7 separate regions of the Homo sapiens genome follow, and all the other regions are linked to region 3. The links are contacts of gene promoters, found by promoter capture Hi-C in blood cells and fetal thymus (Javierre and others, 2016). All regions are on one chromosome and are shown on one strand. Each heading gives the region's core, a stretch centred on a gene start or on the middle of the fragment in contact. The rest is flanking DNA. Distances are from core to core; before and after follow the strand shown.

Region 1 (2,884 bases), core at 337-2,836, 1.2 Mb after region 3:
ATCAGAAAAAGCTACTAGTTGATAGGGGTTTACTTATCCAATTTATCTGAAATCAGAACCAACCATCCTAAAAGTTTTTAAATTCCACTTCATGTTTCTTTTCATTTCATGATGGTGGTCACCATGCCTACCAACCAGGAAATGAGCCTTCATCCACACAAATGGGCCGTGATTTATGTGCCTGTGACTTATTTATAAAAGACGCATTAGGTCATCACAAAATGAAAAATAAAAAAAATGAAAAGCTTACTGAAACAAAAATTGTCTATAAAGAATAAAAGTTCTTATGCTCTAGTTGATGACTCACTTATTTCAAAACAATTTTCCAAGTTTCTGTACAATAAAGAACTTGAACTATCCTAAACATTATGTGATATGGTGCAATTTTGTAAATGCAAATAATTATTAATTTTTTTTTTACTCCTGTCAGTAAAAAAATTCTCATATTTTTAAGAAAATAATTTTTAAAATAACTTTTTAACAAATATATCTTAAAATATTTCTACGGGCCTTTCTATTGCAACCGGGAGACCATCAAATGTGGAAAGATTTTTCTGATATTAGATTTAAAAATAATGGACCAAATGCAGTTTAATAAAATGTAGAATGCAAATTAGATCTTCAGATCTAATGCATTTCACCATACTTTAAGACACTATGCTAGTGCCTCAGATTAGTATGCCCAGATGTAATAGTTCCATTTTTTGACTTCTGTTTCCTGGATGTATAGAAATTTTTCTCAGGTCTTTTCCAACATGTATTTATTAGTAATTGACAAGTGAGAACACAGGCTTAATTATAATCTATTTTGCCACTCTTTTTCAGATTCCTGATATGAAACTCATTTTTTAAACAGTGCCTTGAATTAATAGTCAATTTAATAGAATTGTAAGCCCTTATATTGGGGGTGGCCCTTGTCAGAATGAAAAATGGAAAACTCATGCTTCAGAGATAGGTACAAATAATATGTGAAAACATTTAAGAGGTTTGAAGTTATTAAAATGGCAGCTCTACTGGGAACAGAGAGAGCAGTATGTCATGGAAGAAACGAAGGAAAAGGGAGACAGGAAGCATTCTCTGGCCTTTTCAATCCCGCGCTTTAAAACAAAACAAAAAAATTCTGGAAGAATTGGAAGCTAGCCAACCTAATGCCGTTATTTCATAGAGCTTAGGGACACACCAGGAAATTGCAGGCCAGTTAGTTTAACTTCACTTGTAGGAAAAGTATTAAAAACTGCTGCAGGAGATCAAGTAAAAGGATGCTTAGAAAAGCACAGCTTGATTAAGGCAAGCCTGGCCAACGTGATTTTCGGAAAGGGAAGGTCATGTCTTAGGAACTTGTTGAAATTCTTTGAAGCTATTATGGCCAGTACAGTCTTCAAAGAATACAGCAAGACTCAGAATCTGCGGATCTTTCCGTTCCACATCAGTCCTTCAGGGATGCCTACAGAACGTGGCCCACACCAGGGCCTCGGCACTCCACATTTAGAAACCACTATCAAAATAGCAGAAATAACCCCTGATGGAACATTTTTTAAAGCTGGAACCAATTAATACAACCTGATATTTATAAATGTAAAATAATGAGACTTGGAACAAAATTTGGGAATATCAAGCTGTAACAAAGAAGTGCTACGTTGGGACTATAAAAACAATCTAGGAGTTCTTGTGCCAAAATCTGGGTTTTGGAGGCATTTCTTACCCGAAGAAGGAAAGAAGAGGAGAAATAGTAATGCTAGAAACGGTTACAAAGGGCTATGAAGAGTTACAAATGAATGACTTTTGTCAAGATGGGGAAAAGAGCAGTCAGATGTGTTAACAGCCCTGGGCCCCCACATTTCTGGAGGGCACCAAAGCAGCTCAGCAGAGAAAGTCAAGTTCAAGCTAGTCACTGAGGGGCAGAAGGTCAGGGCTCCATTGCTTTAGGAATGGGCTCCCAGGGTGTGAATACGTTTGCCTCCCAGATCAGAAACCTGGAGTTCTATTTTCAAAGAAAAGCAGAACTCAAGTAAAGGCATTCAAAAACAATTCAAATCATGCCCCAGCTCTCTTCCACCCTGGGGGTCAGGCAGCTGGCCAAGCCCATGTGGCAAATAGTTAGCAGTCCAGGAGAGGGGAGGTAGACACTGGGGAGGTGTGGTGGTGATGCAGTGGAGCCGGGGATCCAGCAGCAGGAAGCCCATGCCACACAAGGACTGGGTTGCTGGCTAGGACCTGCAGGCAGTGGGCAAGGCAGGAATCTCATCAGGAGTTCCAAGACAGACCTCAGTGGAGGGCCAGCCACAAGAATAAAGTGAGGTTCAGCTAATGAAGAGAAGTCATCACAGCTTCTCCTCCAGGTCTGGGCTGGGGTGGTTTCTGAAACCTCTTAACACCCTATACTCTACAGACACCAGGATTGGAGGGGTGCTGGGGAAGGAATCAAGAAGATTGTATCATTCTGTTTCTGTATTTAAAACTGTGAAAAATCAATAATTACATATGGTGATAATAAAAGTTACCACTTATTGAACACATGTATTCCAAGTCTTGTGTGCTGGGTAGTTCATATATATCAACTAACCTAATCTCTTTTTTTTTGGCTGGCTTTTTTCTTTTTGTGGGGAACAGGAGCGTGCTATGTTGCCTGGGTAAGTCTTGAACTCCTGGGGTTCAAGCTATCCTCCCGCCCCTGCCAGCCCAATTACTGGGATTATAGGTGTAAACCACTGCACCTGGCTAACTTAACCATCTTAACAACCTTTCAGATACCTATGAATGATGAAATTTGAATCAGACTGGTTAGGTAACTTGTTGATTCAGAAGTCTGTTTTTTCTACTTGCATCACACACAAGCTGAGAATAAATAGTTTAAATTCTGGAAGTGACTGTTGTGGTTTAATAT
Region 2 (2,858 bases), core at 315-2,814, 1.3 Mb after region 3:
GCTTAAATCTTCAGCTTCAATTCTCTTTTCTTTTGCTATGCTCTGAAGCCATTTATGTAACATTCCCTGAAGTTTTGGTAGAACATATCCTCAATACTCTGTGTCTGGTGTCATTTTAATGGAAGAGGAAAAGGAAGAGAACATGGACAAGTGGGTGAGGTTGTTAATAGTCTTTATCTTTAAAATTTCTTTCATGCTTGTAGATTTAACTAGATTTTTGTATTTCTGAGGCCAATTTTTGTCATCAGCTTTTTTCTTAATGAATATGTCTTAATAAGTATTTTATTGGAGTTTTAAATCTGATACAATGTGCTTTACACTATTCACTTAAATATGTTTTAAAATTTCCTCTGTATCTGGTCATGTACCTTTCCTCATGACTGATGTTATTTATTTGTGCTTTCCTTTTCTTGATCATGATTGTTAAGGGCATAGCTATTGTATTGGTCTTTTCAAAGAACCAGGATTTGGTTTCATTGATCAACACCTTTTTACTTTTTATTTTATTAATCTCTTCATTAATTTCTTCATCTATTTATTTATATATTTGTTATTTATTTAATTATTTTTAAGACAGGGTCTCTCTCTGTCCCCTAGGCTGGAGTGCAGTAGCACAATCATAGTTCACAATCTCAAACTCATGGGCTCAGTGTTCCTCCCACTTCAGCCTCCTGAGTATCTAGAACTACAAGCATGCACCACCATGCCCAGCGAATTTAAAATAATTTTTTTGGAGAGACAAGGCCTTGCTATGTTGCCCAGTATGGTCTTTAACTCGTGGCCCCAAGCCAACCTCCCACCTAAGCCTCCTAAAGCACTGGGATTATAATCATGAACCACCGTGTCTGGCTCATCTCTGTCATTTCCATCTTTCTACTTTCTTTGGATTTATTTTGTATTTCATTTTAATTGAAAGCTTACTTCATTTATTTTTAGTCTTTTTGCTTTATTTAAGGCTATACATTTCTTTTCGAGTGTTTCTTTGTTTGCATCCTGATGCTTTCAGTGTATTCAATTCTAAATCTTTTATTTATTTACATGTTTAACCCATGAATTATTTTGATTTCCATTATTTACTGATGATTTCTAATTTTTTAACATTATAATCAGTAGGCATTTTCTGCAAGTTAGCAAATTCAAATTTCCTGAGGCTTCCTGTGTGACCTGATGTAACATGGTCATTGTGAAGGTTCTATGTGTATCTGAAAGAGTTTGTGATTCATACTAGTAGCACATATGTAGCACTTACAGGCGCCAGGCACTGTTCTAAATGCTTTCAATATGTTAACTCATGTAATCTTCAGAACAATCCTATGAAGTAGGAACTGTTTTTATCCCCCATTGTATTAGTCCATTTTCACACTGCTGTAAAGATACTACCCCAGACTGGGTAATTTATAAACAAAGGAGGTTTAATTGACTCACAGTTCCGCATGGCTGGAGAGACCTCAGGAAACTTACAGTCATAGTAGAAGGGAAAGCAGGCACCTTCTTCACAAGACAGCAGGAACAAACTACCACTTTTAAAACCATCAAGTCTCATGAGAATTCCATCATTATCATAAGAACAGCATGGGGGAAACCACCCTCATTCTCCCATCACCTCCCTCCCTCGACACGTGGGGATTACAGTTTGAGATGAGATTTAGGTGGAGATACAGAGCCAAACCGTATCACCCATCTTACAGATAAGGAAACTGAGGCACAAAAAGTTTTTCAAGTTTGTTCAAGTAATAAGTAGCAGAAATGACTTAAAACCTAGTGAATCTGCACAGAAAAGTATTTGGATGCCATTTCTGCATTGTCGTCTTCCTTTTAATGTTGCTGTTAAGAAGTCTGATGTCAATCTGATACTTTTTTCTTTGAAGATAATCTTTACTTTTCTTTCTAGCAGCTGTTAGGGTTTTCTCTTTATAATTGATAACACAAGACTATGTCTAGGTATGATTTTATCATACTTGTCCTTATGGTGTAAGGGAATTATCATCTGATTTCCAGTCACATTCTGTGTGAAATAAAAATTCCTTACACTGTCCCATAAAGGCCCTAAAAATAGGGTTCTGAGATGTACCTGTCATCTCACCTCCTACCTGCCACCACACACACACACACACACACACGTCATCTACATAGGCCTTCTGGTTTTTCCTCAAATATGTTGCTTAATTCTATCTTAACCTTTTACTCTACCTTCTCTGCCTAGAAAGCTTTCTCTCTTTCTGGAGGGTCTCCAGTAGAAGTGTCAATCCTTAGAGAGGCCTTCTCTGACCACCTGATCTAAAGAACCCTCTCCCCACACAACACACAGCACTCTCTACCACATCACCTTGTTTTATTTTCTTATCAACAGCTTTTCTTTTTGCAATATATTGATCAGCTATTTTTTTCTTCCCTTCCCCGTCCTCCTACTAGAATATAAACTCCATGCAAGCAGTAACAATGTAGTCTTGTTCGTTGCTGTATGCTCAGCACACAATAACCACACCTAACCCATAGTAGACACTAAATACATATTTGTTAAATTCAGAAGATTCTAAGAAAGTCTTCTATCTTCAAATATCATTTTTCCTATCGATTTACCTTAATTATTATTGAATGGGTGTTGGAGTTTCAGGGTTTTTCTCTTTGTCTTTTAAGTTTTCTTTCAATTTTATCCCTTTGGGAATTCCAGCTTAACTTCCTACTAATGCTTTCTTCAGGGAGTCCAGTCTGCTATTGAAGTTTTGTTTTGGCAGTAATGTTTTTAATTTGTAAATTCTCTACTTTTTTTTTACAATTGCCTATTCTTGTTTTTAGTGCATGGATGTGACACATTTTTTCTGTTAATACATAAAAGGTTTATTTTAAAGTCCTTTTCA
Region 3 (2,944 bases), core at 413-2,912:
TCCTGTTGATGACATGTGTGATTTCATCTGAGGCTCTGGAAGTGGAAAGCTGCTTCAGGATTTGAGTATTTCTGTCATAGTATAATTTAAACCCTCTGTCAGATTTACTCATTAGTTTATCCAAGAAGGTTTATTGACACACACTCTCAGCCAGGGTGGCGGAGGCATATACTGCTCCCCACATGCTTAACATTTCGCTGTTGCTTAAATACAGGCATGGCTCTGTGACTAGTTCTTCTGGCCAATGGCCTGGGAGTGGGAATAGCAGGTGTGAATTCTAGGCCAAGGATTGAAGAGCTGGTATGTGACCCTCCAGCTTTGTTTCCTCCTCTACAGCGATCCTCCATCCTCAAGAAGGCAAAGCTGTAAGAGAAAGGCCACTTGGATTCCCAAAACGCCATTTGGAAAAGGGTAGCCCTGGAGATCAGCTGATATTGTGTAAGGAAGAAATAAATATTTATGTGTTATCTCACTAAGTTGTTAAGGTTTATTCTTTACTATAACATAGCCTGATTTAACATAATATATCAAAGTATTATGCTAAACACTAGAGATATGGGGGGGGACCTTTATCACATCAGTTTCTGCTCTCAAGAAGCTTACAGTCGAAGAAGACAGACTTTCATAGCTCATCATTTGATAGCTGATACGATTTAGAGTACAACAGGAGTCCCTTTGAGGGGAGAGTTACCTGGGAATTTGGCAATATTCCCATTACCTCTCAAATGATATACCACAAGTGATGTTCCACTCAATCTATTCTAGACAAGCTCCAATTCTCATCTATCTTTAAATTAGGTTATTACTGTCTATCTCATAGGGATCTTGTGAGAATTGAAGGATCTTGTAAAATGCAGAATATAGTAGTAGTTAAGAATAAAAGTTTGCGGATTTTGCTTCCTGCTAATGGACGCTTTATTCTGTTCCATTGATCTGTTATCTATCTTTATACCAGTACCTCCCTGTCTTCATTAGCGTTCTTGGCAGTTCTCCGCAGGTTGATCTGTAGATTCAACTTAACACAATCAGAGGCTCTTCATTAGTGGGACTTTGTAACCCATTTGTTCCAAATAAGCTTATTGCTCAAAGGAACTACATTGTTTGAGACACATTAACTTCTTTACTTTTTTAGGAGCATAGCCATGTCACTGTTTTCTTTTGCTTGTGGCCGGGAAGCAGTGGTCAGAATACTAAATATATCCCTGAAGGCAATAGCAATACCTTTTAGGTTTTCAGAACGCTGTCAAGTGAAAACATTTTAACCCATTTTTCCTCCTATGGACACCCACGAATATTCCACCATACAATTCTAAGACTCAACTTCCTAGACTTAACCTTCTCTGTCTGTATCCTTTTTGAAACCAAATCTTCCTTTGCCCATGCCCTCTGAGTTCCCTAACACCTGTCTCCCTAGGACCATCTTTGCCAAGGTCCTTGCCTTGCAAACTCATAGTTGGCTTCCACGATATCTTCCATTCCCATCCTATCTGGCACTTCATCACCCTTCTCAGTTCCAAGCACACAGAACACACTCAATGACAAACCTTATTCTAATGTCTTCCAGTCCTCAGGGAAAGAAGTGTTTAGACGCAGCCACTCAAAGCCTGGCTCACTGCCGGAGGTGTTAGGAAACACACCACATCACTACCCACAGTTCAGGCTAAAGAAGAGGCTGAAGTCTCAAAGTTAATCTTTTAATGAAAACATCCAGCTTAGCAGTAAATAAGCAACTAGGCCAGAGCAAGGTTGACTTTGAAAGAATTTTGCTGACTTTGCAAATTTACTTCAAAATTAAGTGAAGTTTATTACAAAATTAAACTTCAAAGTGAAGTTGTAATTTCCTACCTGAAATCACCCATTCCCTACCTCTAAATTCAAACTTGATGTTGTCCTCTGCTCATCACAGATTGTTAGAGGTAGGGAGTGGATGATTTCAGGTAGGAAATTACAAAAGTCCCCGGGTTGGAGGAGGGGCTTTTTGTGGTGATGGGGTTGGGGTGGGAGAAGAGCAAGCACAGCCTGGGAGCCCATGGGCAGGACAGCAGTGGGGACCCAGGCCAGGACGGTCCGAGCTTTGGGGATTTTGGAGGGTGCATAGTGTAGAGCCCTCCCTGCCCACAGAACTGTTCTGGGGAAGTAATTATGTCTAGATTAATATGGGAGTCAGGGAGAACCAGTGAAATTTTTGAGTGGAAAATTATTCAGGAATGTAGAAGAAATGCTAGGAAAAGCAAACTTAAAAGTACATGGAAAAATAGAATTAATTTCTCCAGAAGAGTTCTGTAGGGGTCCCAGAAAGGTCACTAATTTGTCCAGGTCTGTTCGTCTCCACTCCTCCCCCAGCTCTTGCCACTGCTCCTTAGTATTGCCACAGCTCACGTGTGTGATGCGCTTACGACGTGCCAGACACACTACACGCATTACTTCATTTGATCTTCACGGAAGGTCAATCTTTTCAAGATTGTCTCTTTTTCAGAAGAGAAAATGAGATTAACGAACATGCCCAAAGCCTTTCAGCAGTAAAGAGCAGAATTGGGATTTGAACCTAGCCTGTAGCCAACACACGGAGCAGAGGAGGCCGAAATCCTGAGCTGTACCGATGACCATAGCAGTGGGGTTTGCCTTTCCTTTAGAACCTGTAGTTAGAGAGCAAAATGATGAATTTACCACTGACTTGTCATACCATCTCCACTCAAGGCTCATTGGCTATTTATTTGGAGGGTAATCCCTACCTGCTATCTAGCCACTAGAGGACAGTATTACCTCAAAAATGCTTTCAAAAGTAGCCAAAATCTGGGTTCTGGAAATTTCTTTTCCATAGCAATTTTCACAATCTCCATAATCAGCCTCTAGGCCATGTCCTCGGTCAGCTCTCACAACACCTGGCCTGCTCACAGTCCCCTGATCCAGACCCTCCCTTGCTGTTTTCCAGACTCCGACTCTG
Region 4 (2,858 bases), core at 99-2,598, 1.4 Mb after region 3:
ATTTCGGAAAAAGATCTGTTTGAACCAGAATTCATTACATGAAGTCTATTACTTAAGGACCGTGTCAGCCACCAGAGAGAGGAGAGATGAGTTTCTAAGAGCACTTATCGCACAGTTTTATACCCTTTCAGAGATGCTTCTTATCCAAGATCATGAGCAACCCCAAACATTTAGAATAGGATGAATAGGGCCAAACATGTATGTAACCTCAGCTAAAATATGTTAAATATTAGAAATAAGGGGGCATAAGACAATTAGTTAGAAGAGATATTAAAGCGAGCAGATAAGATATGAGGATACAGGAGAAATGATATCCTAACTATTCAGTTTGCCTCTTTATCGAGTAGCCCTTTCCAAACCTTAAGTCCTCCCTTGATTAATGTTTTCCTCCTGCAAACACAGTTTGTGACTAGGATCTATGGGTATTCTTTCTCCTAAAATGGTTTTCCAAGTCCCACATATTTAACAAGAAAATTTTAATAATTTCTGTCTTTCTGTTACTCTTTCAGGTGTTACCTCCAAACACAGGCTCTCTTTATATTGACAAGGATTGTTCAGCTGTGTACTGCCATGAGTCAAGCAGTAATATATACTATCCTTTTCAAAAGCGTGAGCAGCTGCGAGCTGGCAGGTACATCATGAGGCATACTTCAGAGGTTATCTGTGAGGTTCTGGATCCTGAGGGAAACACTTTTCAGGTAAAGTGCACCTTTGGTATGGAGAGAGAGCCTGTGGCTTTGCTTTTGAGATATTTCACACTACAAAGCTTCCATGTAGATTTTTACCTTAGTTGCCTTGGGATTAATTATCCACTTACTGCCAATACTTTGGGCAAGCAGTAATGAATGTCAATACATTTCCTTTGATTCTTAAGTGTACTTTCATGGAGAATGGCAAGCCGAATAATTGGTGGGATAGAAATGTTAGGGCTAAATAAATAATTAGAACAGAAAGGAAGAAACAGTAGCAGACATCTGAAAATAATGCCAACATAAAGAATGATGTGGCAATGGTCCTTATCCAAGTTGAAGTCAGAGCAAACACAAGACAGGAGGCAAGTTTCTTTGAGTAGTCACAGAGTAAGATGGTAAGAAGGATACAGTAGGGTTGAAAGTGGGGAAGTGGACCAACATCCAAGCTGAGTGCCAAATCAAGAACACAATCCTGAAGATGGCTGAATAGGAACAGCTCCAATCTGCAGCTCCCAGTGTGATCGACACAGAAGATGGGTGATTTCTGCATTTCCAACTGAAGTACCTGGTTCATCTCACTGGGACCAGTTGGACAGTGGGTGCAGCCCACGGAGGGCAAGATGAAGCAGGGCAGGGCATCCGCCTCACCTGGGAAGTGCAAGGTGTCAGGGGATTTCCCTTTCCTAGCCAAGGGAAACCATGACAAACTGTACCTGGAAAAACAGGACATTCCTGCCCAAATACTGTGCTTTTCCAATGGTCTTAGCAACCAACAGATAAGGAGATTCTCTCCCATGCCTGGCTTGGTGGATCTCACGCCCAAGGAGCCTTGCTGACTGCTAAACAGCAGCCTGAGATCAAACTGTGAGGCAGCAGCCTGGCTGGGGGAGGGGGTCCGCCATTGCTGAGGCTTGAGTAGGTAAACAAAGCAGCCAGGAAGCTCGAAATGGGCAAAGCCCACCACAGCTCAGCAAGGCCTACTGCCTCTAGTCTCCACCTCTGTGGGCAGGGCTTAGCTGAACGAAAGGCAGCAGACAACTTCTGCAGACTTAAACATCCTTGTCCAACAGCTCTGAAGAGAGCAGTGGTTCTCCCAACATGGCGTTTGAACTCCGAGAAGGGACACACTGCCTCCACAAGTGGGTCCATGACCCCCGTGTAGCCTAACTGGGAGACACCTCCCAGTAGGGGCCAACAGACACCTCATATAGGCAGGTGCCCCTCTGGGACGAAGCTTCCAGAGGAAGGATCAGGCAGCAATATTTGCAGTTCTGCAATATTTGTTGTTCTGCAGCCTCCACTAGTGATACCCAGGCATCCAGCAAACTCCAACAGACCTGCAGCTGAAGGACCTGACTATTAGAAGGAAAAGTAACAAACAGAAAGGAATAGTGTCAGCATCAACAAAAAGGACATCTACACCAAAACTCCATCTGTAGGTCACCAACATCAAAGACCAAAGGTAGATACAACGACAAAGGTGGGGAGAAACCAGAGCAGAAAAGCTGAAAATTCTAAAAATCAGAGTGCTTCTCCTCCAAAGGATCACAGCTCCTTACCAGCAACAGAACAAAGCTGGATGGAGACTGACTTTGATGAGTTGACAGAAGTAGGCTTCAGAAGGTCAGTTATAACAAACTTCTCTGAGCTAAAGGAACATGTTCAAACCCATCGCAAGGAAGCTAAAAACCTTGAAAAAAGCTTAGACGAATGGCTAAGTAGAATAAACCATGTAGAGAAGACATTAAATGACCTCATGGAGCTGAAAACCATGACATGAGAACTTCATGACACATGCACAAGCTTCAATAGCTGATTTGATCAAGTGGAAGAAAGGGTATAAGTGACTGAAGATCAAATTAATGAAATAAAGTGAGAAAAGAAATTTAGAGTAAAAAGAAACAAACAAAGCCTCCAAGAAATACAGGACTATGTGAAAAGATGAAATCTATGTTTGACTGATGGACCTGAAAGTGATGGGGAGAATGGAACCAAGTTGGGAAACACTCTTCAGGATATTATCCAGGAGAACTCCTCAACCTAGCAAGGCAGGCCAACATTCAAATTCAGGAAATACAGAGAACATCACAAAGATACTCCTCGAGAAGAGCAACCCCAAGACACAAGTGTCAAATTCACCAGGGTTGAAATGAAGGAAAAAATGTT
Region 5 (2,885 bases), core at 251-2,750, 1.3 Mb after region 3:
GGTGTGAGCCACTGCATTTCTGATATAATACCTTCTCTTATCTCTATGAGGATATTAAAGTCCTCTGAAGTTGTCTTCTCCATGAATTATCTCTTTTTCCTCCAAGTTTCTTTTCTCATTTTTTGTCTTTTTTGTTTCGTCTTCATTTTTCACATTGGAGGGTAATATATAATATTGTCCTCTTTGCTCATATTAATAATGAAACAATAAAAATATGATAGGAAGTGCTATATGAGGTGGGGTGGGGGGTTGTCAATAACTGAGTTCATTGTTGGGTGATTTGACTGGGAGATTTCCATAGGAGACTCACCATTGTTGGTATGTCAGTTCTGTTTTCTTGGGCCATTTAAATTCTCCATGAAAAAAAAAAAGTCTAATTTTCTGTCTGAAAGACATAAGCCTTCCTGTCAGTGTTTTGAGAGCTAGGTAATGAGGGAAGGGTATTAAGCTTCTGACATTTATTATCTAGATCTGCATTATCCAGTGTGGTAGCCACTAGTCACATGTAACTTCTGAATACTTGAAATGAATCTAGACCAAATTGAGATGTGCAATAACTGTGCTATACACTATATAAGTGCTATTACACACTCAATTTCCAAGACTTTAAAAAGGTGGCATTGATTACTTTTACATTGTTTATATGTTGAAATGATAAGAATTTTTATCTATCAGGTTAAATATAATATATCATTAACATTTATTTTACTTGTTTCTTTTTACTTTTTAAAATGTGGCTACTATAAAATTTAGAATTGCACATGTGGCTCACATTTGTGGCTCACTTTATATTTCTATTGAGCAGTGCTGATTTAGGCTTTTACACAATTCCCTTTTTTTCTAGAATGTACTTCTCTGTCAGTGTGCGTTGGGTCCACTGTTCTTAGAACCCATTCATCTACCATCTGTAGTTACCCTCTTCCCCTCTGCTAGAGTGGGAGATAGGCAATAGCCCAGTTGCTCAGAATTTTAATGGAATCCAGGGGCCTAACTGCTTCTTAAAAAGATTTTAAACTAATCTTCCTATTTTCAGTGCCACTTTCACCCCACTTGCAGAGGTGACTAGTATTTCCATATCCTGAGACTTTCTATATTTCTGCACACAAATGGGGTTGCCTGTGGTCTCTCCTAAAATTAATCTTAGGACTTGGCTTTCTGTATTCTGCTAAGTCATTTAGCATTTATCCTTCTGCTTTCCAGCTTCTAAAATTCCGGTGCCTTTATCTCCTCTCCTTCAACAAGTTGAAGTTGGCTTTCAATTTTATGATATTAAAAAAACAAACAAAATGTTACTGTTCTTTTAATGAGGCGTTAGAGAGTGCAAATGTTCAATCTTTTCTCTGTAACTGAAAGTTTACTTCAGACTTTATACTATTTCAGTTTTTCTCAGTCCTTACTGCTCCATGAAGCTGCACTTTTCAAGGTAATCAATAATCTTTGTCTTGCCAAATCTAATGGACACTTATCTTTCTTCATCTTCCCTGACATTTTAACAGCATTGCAGAGCTTATCCCTTCCCCCATGAAACACTCTGCACTCTTGGTTTCCTCAGTGTTGTATTTGGAATTTTGTTGACTTTTCCTCCTTTACCCAGCATCTAATATGGAAGTGCCTCAAGGCTCTGGAGCCTCCAGGAAGCCCTAGAGCATCTTCTTGCCTCTGTAAACACCCTTCTTTGATGATCTCATCTGTTATATACTATCTAATGCTGATGCCCATATCTTTTAAATTATCTCTCTCTAGAGATTCACATTATTATACCTTACTCAAAATTCTACCTGAATTTCTGATCAAATTTAGTATCCATCTCAAATTTAGTATCCTATATGACACTCATATTTTTCCCACCTAAGCATTTCTTCCCTTGTCCATCTCAGAAAAGGTCACCATCATTCAAGTGCTCAAGCAAAAAGCCAGAATCATCCTTTGTTCCAACCTCTCCTTTATCCCTGATACCTAATCCATCATCAGTGTTTAAGGGGTATACCTCCAAATATATCTTCAAGCTCTTCTGCACCACAGCTACCACCACTTTTTTTTTTTTTTGAGACGGAGTCTCACTCTGTCGCTTAGGCTGGAGTGCAGTGGCATGCTCTCGGCTCACTGCAACCTCCGCCTCCTGGGTTGAAGCAATTATCCTGCCTCAGCCTCCTGAGTAGCTGGGACTATAGGCACGTGCCACCATATCTGGCTGATTTTTTGTATTTTTAGTAGAGACAGGGTTTCACCATGTTGGTGAGGATGGTCTCAATCTCCTGACCTCATGATCCACCCACCTTGGACTCTCAAAGTGCTGGGATTACAGGCGTGAGCCACCACACCCGGCCTACTTTTATATGACTACCACCCTCTAATTCCACCACAATATCCTCCTGATTACCTGCTTCCACTCTTGCCCTGCTCTAATCCATTCTCTATATATCAGATATTCCATTAATTTCATCTTTTCGGACACACCTCCTTCAACTCCAAAATAATCTATAAAGCCACAGGTCTGTAGTCCCAACTATTCAGGAGGCTGAGAGAGGAGGATAGCTTGAGGCTAAGCTTTAGGGGCCAGCCTGGGCAACATAGCAAGGTCCCGTCTCTAATTAACAACAACAAAAAAATCTTTATCATATTTTAGAGGAAAATCTTATCTATTTTGTTTATTTTTGTTTTCCTAGTACCTGCACAGTGCCTGCCACACAATAGGTACTCATTTTTAATGAAAAACTTAACTAAATAACTAACGTAACCAATAATATTAATACAGAATAAAAGACAAGCACCAATTAGTAAAAAAGGGGAAAATAAGATATGAAAACTTTACATATTGATTGAGAGCAGCTATAGTTCTGTGAAACTTAGTGCTGTATTTTTAGCACCCCCAAAGCAATATGAAA
Region 6 (2,856 bases), core at 248-2,747, 1.3 Mb after region 3:
AAAGAATGGGAGAGAAAGGAGAAGTGAGCAGAGAGAGAAAGGGAAGTGAGCAGGATGAATGGCTGAGGTGGGTGGAGTGCTCTGGAGAAAGAAAAGGGCATCAAGCAAGTGTGATTCAGCCCCTGGGAAGACAGAGTAGAGGGAGGCAGACAGGTATGGAGAAATCAGGAGAGCATCAAAGACAGACAAGAGTATCATGGAAATAAAATGAGTTTAGGGTTTGAAGTCAGACCAGCACTCTCTACCACAGTTGTGTGTCTTCGGACAAACTCTGTATTAATTTATAAAATGGGGATAAAATTACCCATCTTACAGGTTGCCTTGTGAGATCAAATTAAAGATGATGATGTCTGGAAACTATACTCTGCTACTAGAATTTAGCACTTCCTTTGAATGTTTGGTTGTAGTCCGCCCTCCTTTCTGCAGAATCCCAGAATCCCAAGAACCAAATAGAAGAAAGGGCCAGAGAGTTCCTGAGCTTCTAGAACTCCAGTCTTTGCTAAAATGGCTTCAAAGGGATGAGACTTATGTGGCTGCACAGGCTCTCACACCCTACCTAGGAGAACCTGGAGGGCCAGAGGGCCTCTTACTGTCTAACACATGATGGGGAGGAGTATCTGTGAAATGATGAAATGAATGAATGAATGCATAAATGAATTAATGTTTATTCTTCCAGGTAAACTTTAAAATAATTTAATCTAAAATGGTTTCATCTTTTTAGATCAAAAGATCACCCTGAGATTTTATTTAAAATTGCAGTTGTAAAAGTTTCTGGTATGTTTTTGATGGCTACATTGGAACTTTTCTGTAGCAAGGCCAGCTGTCTACCAACATGTTGCACAGGGTGTTGCAAATTAGTAAATTTGCTATGATCCAAAGCTTGGCTGTTAGAGAGCCCTGCATGAGTCTTACCAGTGCTTCCAGGCCAACTGCACTCAGGGGCACTGACTTGTGCCTTACAAACCCATTAAAAAAGAGCATGGGTGACTGGCCTGGCTTTGCCACATATTAGCTTTGAGTTTGAACAACTACTTGCCCTCACTAAGACTCAGTTTTCTCCTCCGTAAAATGAAGATGGTGCTCTACCTATTGTAGTTATTGTGAAGACTTGACGAGATAGAATATTTGGACTATAGTAAGAATGTAATAAATAGAAATGTAATATTGATAATGATAAGGATGATAATAATAGTGACAATGACAGCCATGATTAGAATAGCCCCTTGCTAATTTACTACAGTAAATATTACTGTCAGTTTTGTGGGACAGACCCATCAGCATTAACTGAAAGTTTTCTCCCTGTAGACAAATTGTACATAGGAAGGCAAACTGTCAGAAACTTATGTAGTACCTCAAGTCTTAACTAGGGAGTTAGTTTAAAGGTTTACAGTCCTGATGGCCTGATGCAGCCCCCTGACCACATGGCTGTAACTCCCAGGTTACCCAGACCCTCCTATCTGTCTATCAGGAAATCTCTGCCCTGGACAATTTGGAATTAACACTGTTATTCTCTGCCTCTCTGATTTCTCTGATTCTTCTTTTTTTTTCTTTTTTGATGTTTTTTATTACTGAGTAATGCTCTTCTTACTGGCCTCTTAGTTCTCTAATGATTATTTCCTCCACTCCACCTCAGCCATTGCCTCCCTTGAACCTTGTCATCACTGAAGCCCTCATCACCTCCAAAGTCTTGAGATGTCCTGTTCTCTAACCTTGGAAATTTCCTATCCTTGTCTCTTACTCATAATCCAATATCCTCCTACATAATTTCTTCAACCACATTATAAATCCCAGTCCATAAATCCCAACACTTTCTATTCATTGTCCTCTCCTGCTATTTGTTTGGCTTAGGTTCCATGATCCAATCAGTATTATCGTTTCTCTGCTTACTCTTGATTCCCCTTGCTCTTCTCTCCTTCCATCACAATCATTTCGCAAAACCCCTCCCAGGATGAACTCAGTGATCCATCATTTTCATTTCTATTCCTGAGCAGCTAAACATAAATGGAGGAATTCACACAATTAAACAGACTGATTTCATGTAAAATTAACAATCTCAACATTTTCAATAAGTTCTCACCACTGGCAGAGTCCTACCATATTACCTCGGTAAGCTTGCTCCCCCACTCTCTGACATAAGATAACTCTTACGTCATCTTCCCTATTCAAACCTCCTGCCTCTTTCCTGCCTTTTCTCAGTTGATGACTTTGCCTCATGCTTCACTTGAAAAAATTGAAACATTTTCTCAACACCATCAAGATGTCTCTGTTTCTGGCACCCAGCCTCTTCCTGTTGTTCTTAGTTATGAAACTAAGAAATTCCCTCTCCTTCTATCAAGGTCCAGTCATTGGCACATTCTTTTGTTCTTATCCCATGTTGACTTCTAGAGAACTTCAGTCTCCTCAGCCCCGTATCTTCACTGTCTCCTTCTCTACTGGATCATTCCATCAGCCTGCAAGCATAACATCTCTTGACTTTACATATATACATACCTTGACCTCATACCCCCTTGCATCCACTCACCCACTGAACAACTCAGAGCTCTGGTTCTGCTTCACAACCAAACTTCCAGAAACAGTTGTCCATAAAAGTGGTTTCTCTATTGATACTGCCCTCCTATTTTCCACCTCCACACTCCACCATAATTGCTCTTCTTCATGTTACCTACAACTGCCAATTCTTGTCTTTTTGACCTTTTTGGTTTCTTAGTTCTCTAGCTTCACACTATATATTTTTCCCTATCTTTTTATCCACTTCGCTGTCTCTTTCTGCTGGCATCTCTCCCTATACCCATTGGTAAGCATTGGAGTCTCTAGCATGATCTCGGACTCAATTCTCATATTTCTCAAGAAACTTCA
Region 7 (3,073 bases), core at 373-2,872, 1.2 Mb after region 3:
CTAAAAATAGAACTACTATATGATCCACCATTCCCCTATTAGGTATTTATCCAAAGGAAAAGAAACCAGTATATTAAAGAAATATCTGTACCCTCCTGTTTACTGCAGCACTATTCACAGTAGCCAAGATATGGAATCAATCTGTGTCTGTCAACAGATGAATGGATAAAGAAAATGTGTTATTTATACAAAATGGAATAGTATTCTGCCATAATAAAGAATGAAATCCTGTCATTTACAAAAACATGGATGAGCCTGAACAATCTAATGTTAAGTGAAATAAGTCAGACACAGACAGATAAATACCACATGTTCTTACTCATATGTGGAGCTAAAAGTGAGCTTATAGATGTAAAGAGTGGAGTCGCAATTATTACAGTCAGGGAAGGGGAGGAAAAAGGGGAAGAAAGGGAGAGGTTGGTTCATGGATACAAAATTACCACTAGATAGGAGGAATAAATTCTAGTGTTCTATAGCACTGTAGGTGAATATAGTCTAATAACTTGTATGTAGTTCAAATAGCTAAAAAAGAAGATTTTGAATTGTTCCTAACACAAAGAAATGATAAGTGTTTGAGGTGATAGATATGCTAATTACCCTGATTTAATCATTACACACTCTACACATGTGTAAAAATATCACTTTGTATCCCGTAAATATTTACCATTATTATATGTCAAAAATATATATATATATATGAATACAATAAAAAATAATACAAATTTTTTAAAAAATTGATATGTGCTCAGGCCAGGAGACGAGCAATAGCTGGAGCTATCAGGACTGAGGGTCCTGAGTCACAGGTCCCCACTAGGTCTCAGGAAAAAAGAAACAGCTCAGCTATTTAGAGTTGAGGCATCAGGTAGGAGCAAAACTAGTAAGGGTAGCAAGAATATTTAAACATAAAAACCTGGGCTAAAAGGCTCTCAGGCTCTTGCAGCTAAGATGGGGATTGGCCATGGAGACTGGGGAGGGACTAGGACACATCCATGCCCAGGAGAAGAGGGACCGTGACCCAAGATGGGAGTCCAGTAGCTCCAGCTAAGGGGTGAAAAGGCCCACTGTGAGGCCACACAATATGTTGACTAGAAACAGGATTCTGGAACCAGATAGCCTGGGTTCAAATCCCATCTCTACTAATTACCGGCTGTGTGATCACCAGGCCTCAGTTTCTGTATCTAATAAAATAGGTGATAGGAATACTCACCTCAAAAGTGTAGGTGAAAATTAAATGGATTGGAATATGTGAAGTGCCTGGAACGGTCCTTGTCCAGCACAGGGTGTGTGCTACATAACCATTTGTGTGTTACACAGTCTGAGCACCTACTACTACTTGAAATATATTCCTAAAGCTTTGTAATTGCAGCTATAAACAATCAAAAACATTTACCTTCAAGCCAAACAACAAAAAGCTCTAGAGATGCCATTCTTATGTTTATTTAAGGAGTGAATATACTGTTTGTCTATATATGCATCAGATTCTGTGAGGGGATTTCAAAAGATGAATCTGAAAGGATTTAACCTTCCAAGCTAGTAGAGGAGACAAACCCTGTGCACAAATAATTTTAATACAAGAGACAGCTAAATCCCTTAGGAAATATACAAAAAACGTTGTAGGGTTGTTCAGAAGGGAAGGTCACTACAACTGCAAGGACCAAGAATGACTTCAGAGGGGTGGGAGCATCTTAGACTAAGGAAAAGATCTTAGTCTAAAAACCAAAACAAAACATTGCCATGATAGTAGAATCGTTTGTTGCTAATACACACCTAAAGAAAAGCCCTTAACTTGGTATGTCATTCTTCCATACGTTATCACATTCAGCTTCATGTGCCTTTATACATTTTGCAAGTATACAAAAACAAAAACACTCCTTAATAAAAAGGAAGCTTTGCTTTTTCCTTCTTTGAAGAGTAATTCCAGCAAACATTTCTAAAATAGTCCTGTGCTTTTTGACATGCACATATTGGTTGTTCAAAATGTACACCTCCCGTAGGAAATTCATTACATTTTAAATTATACATGTCTGTTAAAGCATAGATCTGTTCTACCTTCCATGTATTTGTTATTGCTGCTTCTGAAACTTCCTTACAGCCCCAAAGAGGTCTTAATCCCTGTCAAATGTTATTATGTTACCAACTTTTATGTAGTCTTGAAAGGGGTTGTTTATTTAGTTTCAGTGACTCCTTGTTACTGCCAAATATTATTTCATTTCAGCACAGATGTAAGGGGTCCAATGACTGGAATTATTTTACAGCCCTGACATTGTCGAGAGATGGATACCAGTTTAATTATGGACAGCTGAAAATGATCTAGGAGTCACCTGCTACAGATATTTATCATCATTATGAATTTCTCACCAAGCTGTGGTCTGAGCACTTTCATAACGTTCCATTTGCGTTAGACAGACAGTATGATCTATATGGAACCTATATCTTCAGTCACCTTTAAATTTATGTATAGACAGTTTAATATTGCTTATTTTCTTTTCCTCTTCTCAAAGTGAGAAAATATGTTTCAGTCATTCCTGTTCTTTTTCTTCTCTTTTTTTCTGTTTCTCTCCATAGCCCCCTCTCACTGCTACCCTTATCCTTTCAGCTGTTTTTCCAATTATGCCTCATTGGAAATTACTCATTACTTAAAGAATGTGAATTGGATAGACTAGACACATACAGGATCAAGTAATGCAATAACTACAATATAGTTGGCCCTAAATAAATGCAGAAAGAATGAAGGAGGGAAGGGAGCAGAGGGAACAGGAAAGGAGGCTGTAAAATTACAGAACACTATTGATGGAATTCCTCCATCTCACATTTGAGAAGAAATTAATAGCATATTTTTTCCTCTACATCCTCCCCATTATACACTGCACCAAAATAAAATACATTTTTACACCTTTTCTTTTTATCTCTGCTTCTCTCTAAAGATATCTCAATTTGTCCTTTTCAGATTGGACAAAGGGTTAAATAAAAGGGGTAGCCAGGTTATGGCCAGTTGATAATAAATTCAGGTCACTGTCTCACTGCCCAGTTGCTCCTCATTCCATTCCATTCTCTGCTCTCACAACTTGGGCTG

The links. Contacts are between HindIII fragments. The CHiCAGO score rates a contact against its expected background, and 5 or more counts as called.
Region 1: a fragment that was not itself captured here is called in contact with the fragment with the promoter of HAO2 in region 3 in 9 of 17 cell types (endothelial precursors, M2 macrophages, naive B cells and 6 more); the score reaches 21.3 in endothelial precursors.
Region 2: a contact is called between a fragment that was not itself captured here and the fragment with the promoter of HAO2 in region 3, in 3 of 17 cell types (endothelial precursors, M2 macrophages and erythroblasts). The highest score is 12.3, in endothelial precursors.
Region 4: a contact is called between a fragment that was not itself captured here and the fragment with the promoter of HAO2 in region 3, in 1 of 17 cell types (endothelial precursors). The highest score is 5.9, in endothelial precursors.
Region 5: a fragment that was not itself captured here is called in contact with the fragment with the promoter of HAO2 in region 3 in 1 of 17 cell types (endothelial precursors); the score reaches 12.5 in endothelial precursors.
Region 6: a fragment that was not itself captured here is called in contact with the fragment with the promoter of HAO2 in region 3 in 1 of 17 cell types (endothelial precursors); the score reaches 7.9 in endothelial precursors.
Region 7: a contact is called between a fragment that was not itself captured here and the fragment with the promoter of HAO2 in region 3, in 1 of 17 cell types (endothelial precursors). The highest score is 12.8, in endothelial precursors.

What each region holds. Positions count from the first base shown.
Region 1 is chr1:118,143,252-118,146,135 of GRCh38, reverse strand. The region is part of intron 3 of SPAG17 (sperm associated antigen 17); the gene reads left to right. Among named protein-coding and RNA genes, the nearest start is that of SPAG17, 41 kb to the left of the region's middle. The HindIII fragment of the contact is 2,678 bases long and covers 248-2,884 here.
Region 2 is chr1:118,088,595-118,091,452 of GRCh38, reverse strand. All of the region lies in intron 10 of SPAG17 (sperm associated antigen 17), which reads left to right. Among named protein-coding and RNA genes, the nearest start is that of SPAG17, 95 kb to the left of the region's middle. The HindIII fragment of the contact is 1,291 bases long and covers 919-2,209 here.
Region 3 is chr1:119,367,503-119,370,446 of GRCh38, reverse strand. It overlaps HAO2 (hydroxyacid oxidase 2), which reads right to left and starts at 1,662. Exons shown (of 8, transcript NM_016527.4): 1 at 1,545-1,662. It overlaps HAO2-IT1 (HAO2 intronic transcript 1), which reads right to left and starts at 1,501. Exons shown (of 2, transcript NR_046780.1): 1 at 1,439-1,501; 2 at 116-363. The HindIII fragment of the contact is 4,151 bases long and covers 1,078-2,944 here.
Region 4 is chr1:118,003,254-118,006,111 of GRCh38, reverse strand. It overlaps SPAG17 (sperm associated antigen 17), which reads left to right. Exons shown (of 49, transcript NM_206996.4): 32 at 510-698. Among named protein-coding and RNA genes, the nearest start is that of WDR3, 75 kb to the right of the region's middle. RefSeq lists an enhancer at 1,560-2,075. The HindIII fragment of the contact is 1,160 bases long and covers 769-1,928 here.
Region 5 is chr1:118,068,506-118,071,390 of GRCh38, reverse strand. All of the region lies in intron 17 of SPAG17 (sperm associated antigen 17), which reads left to right. Among named protein-coding and RNA genes, the nearest start is that of SPAG17, 120 kb to the left of the region's middle. The HindIII fragment of the contact is 2,099 bases long and covers 451-2,549 here.
Region 6 is chr1:118,104,548-118,107,403 of GRCh38, reverse strand. The region is part of intron 4 of SPAG17 (sperm associated antigen 17); the gene reads left to right. Among named protein-coding and RNA genes, the nearest start is that of SPAG17, 79 kb to the left of the region's middle. The HindIII fragment of the contact is 1,232 bases long and covers 882-2,113 here.
Region 7 is chr1:118,122,856-118,125,928 of GRCh38, reverse strand. The region is part of intron 3 of SPAG17 (sperm associated antigen 17); the gene reads left to right. Among named protein-coding and RNA genes, the nearest start is that of SPAG17, 61 kb to the left of the region's middle. The HindIII fragment of the contact is 535 bases long and covers 1,355-1,889 here.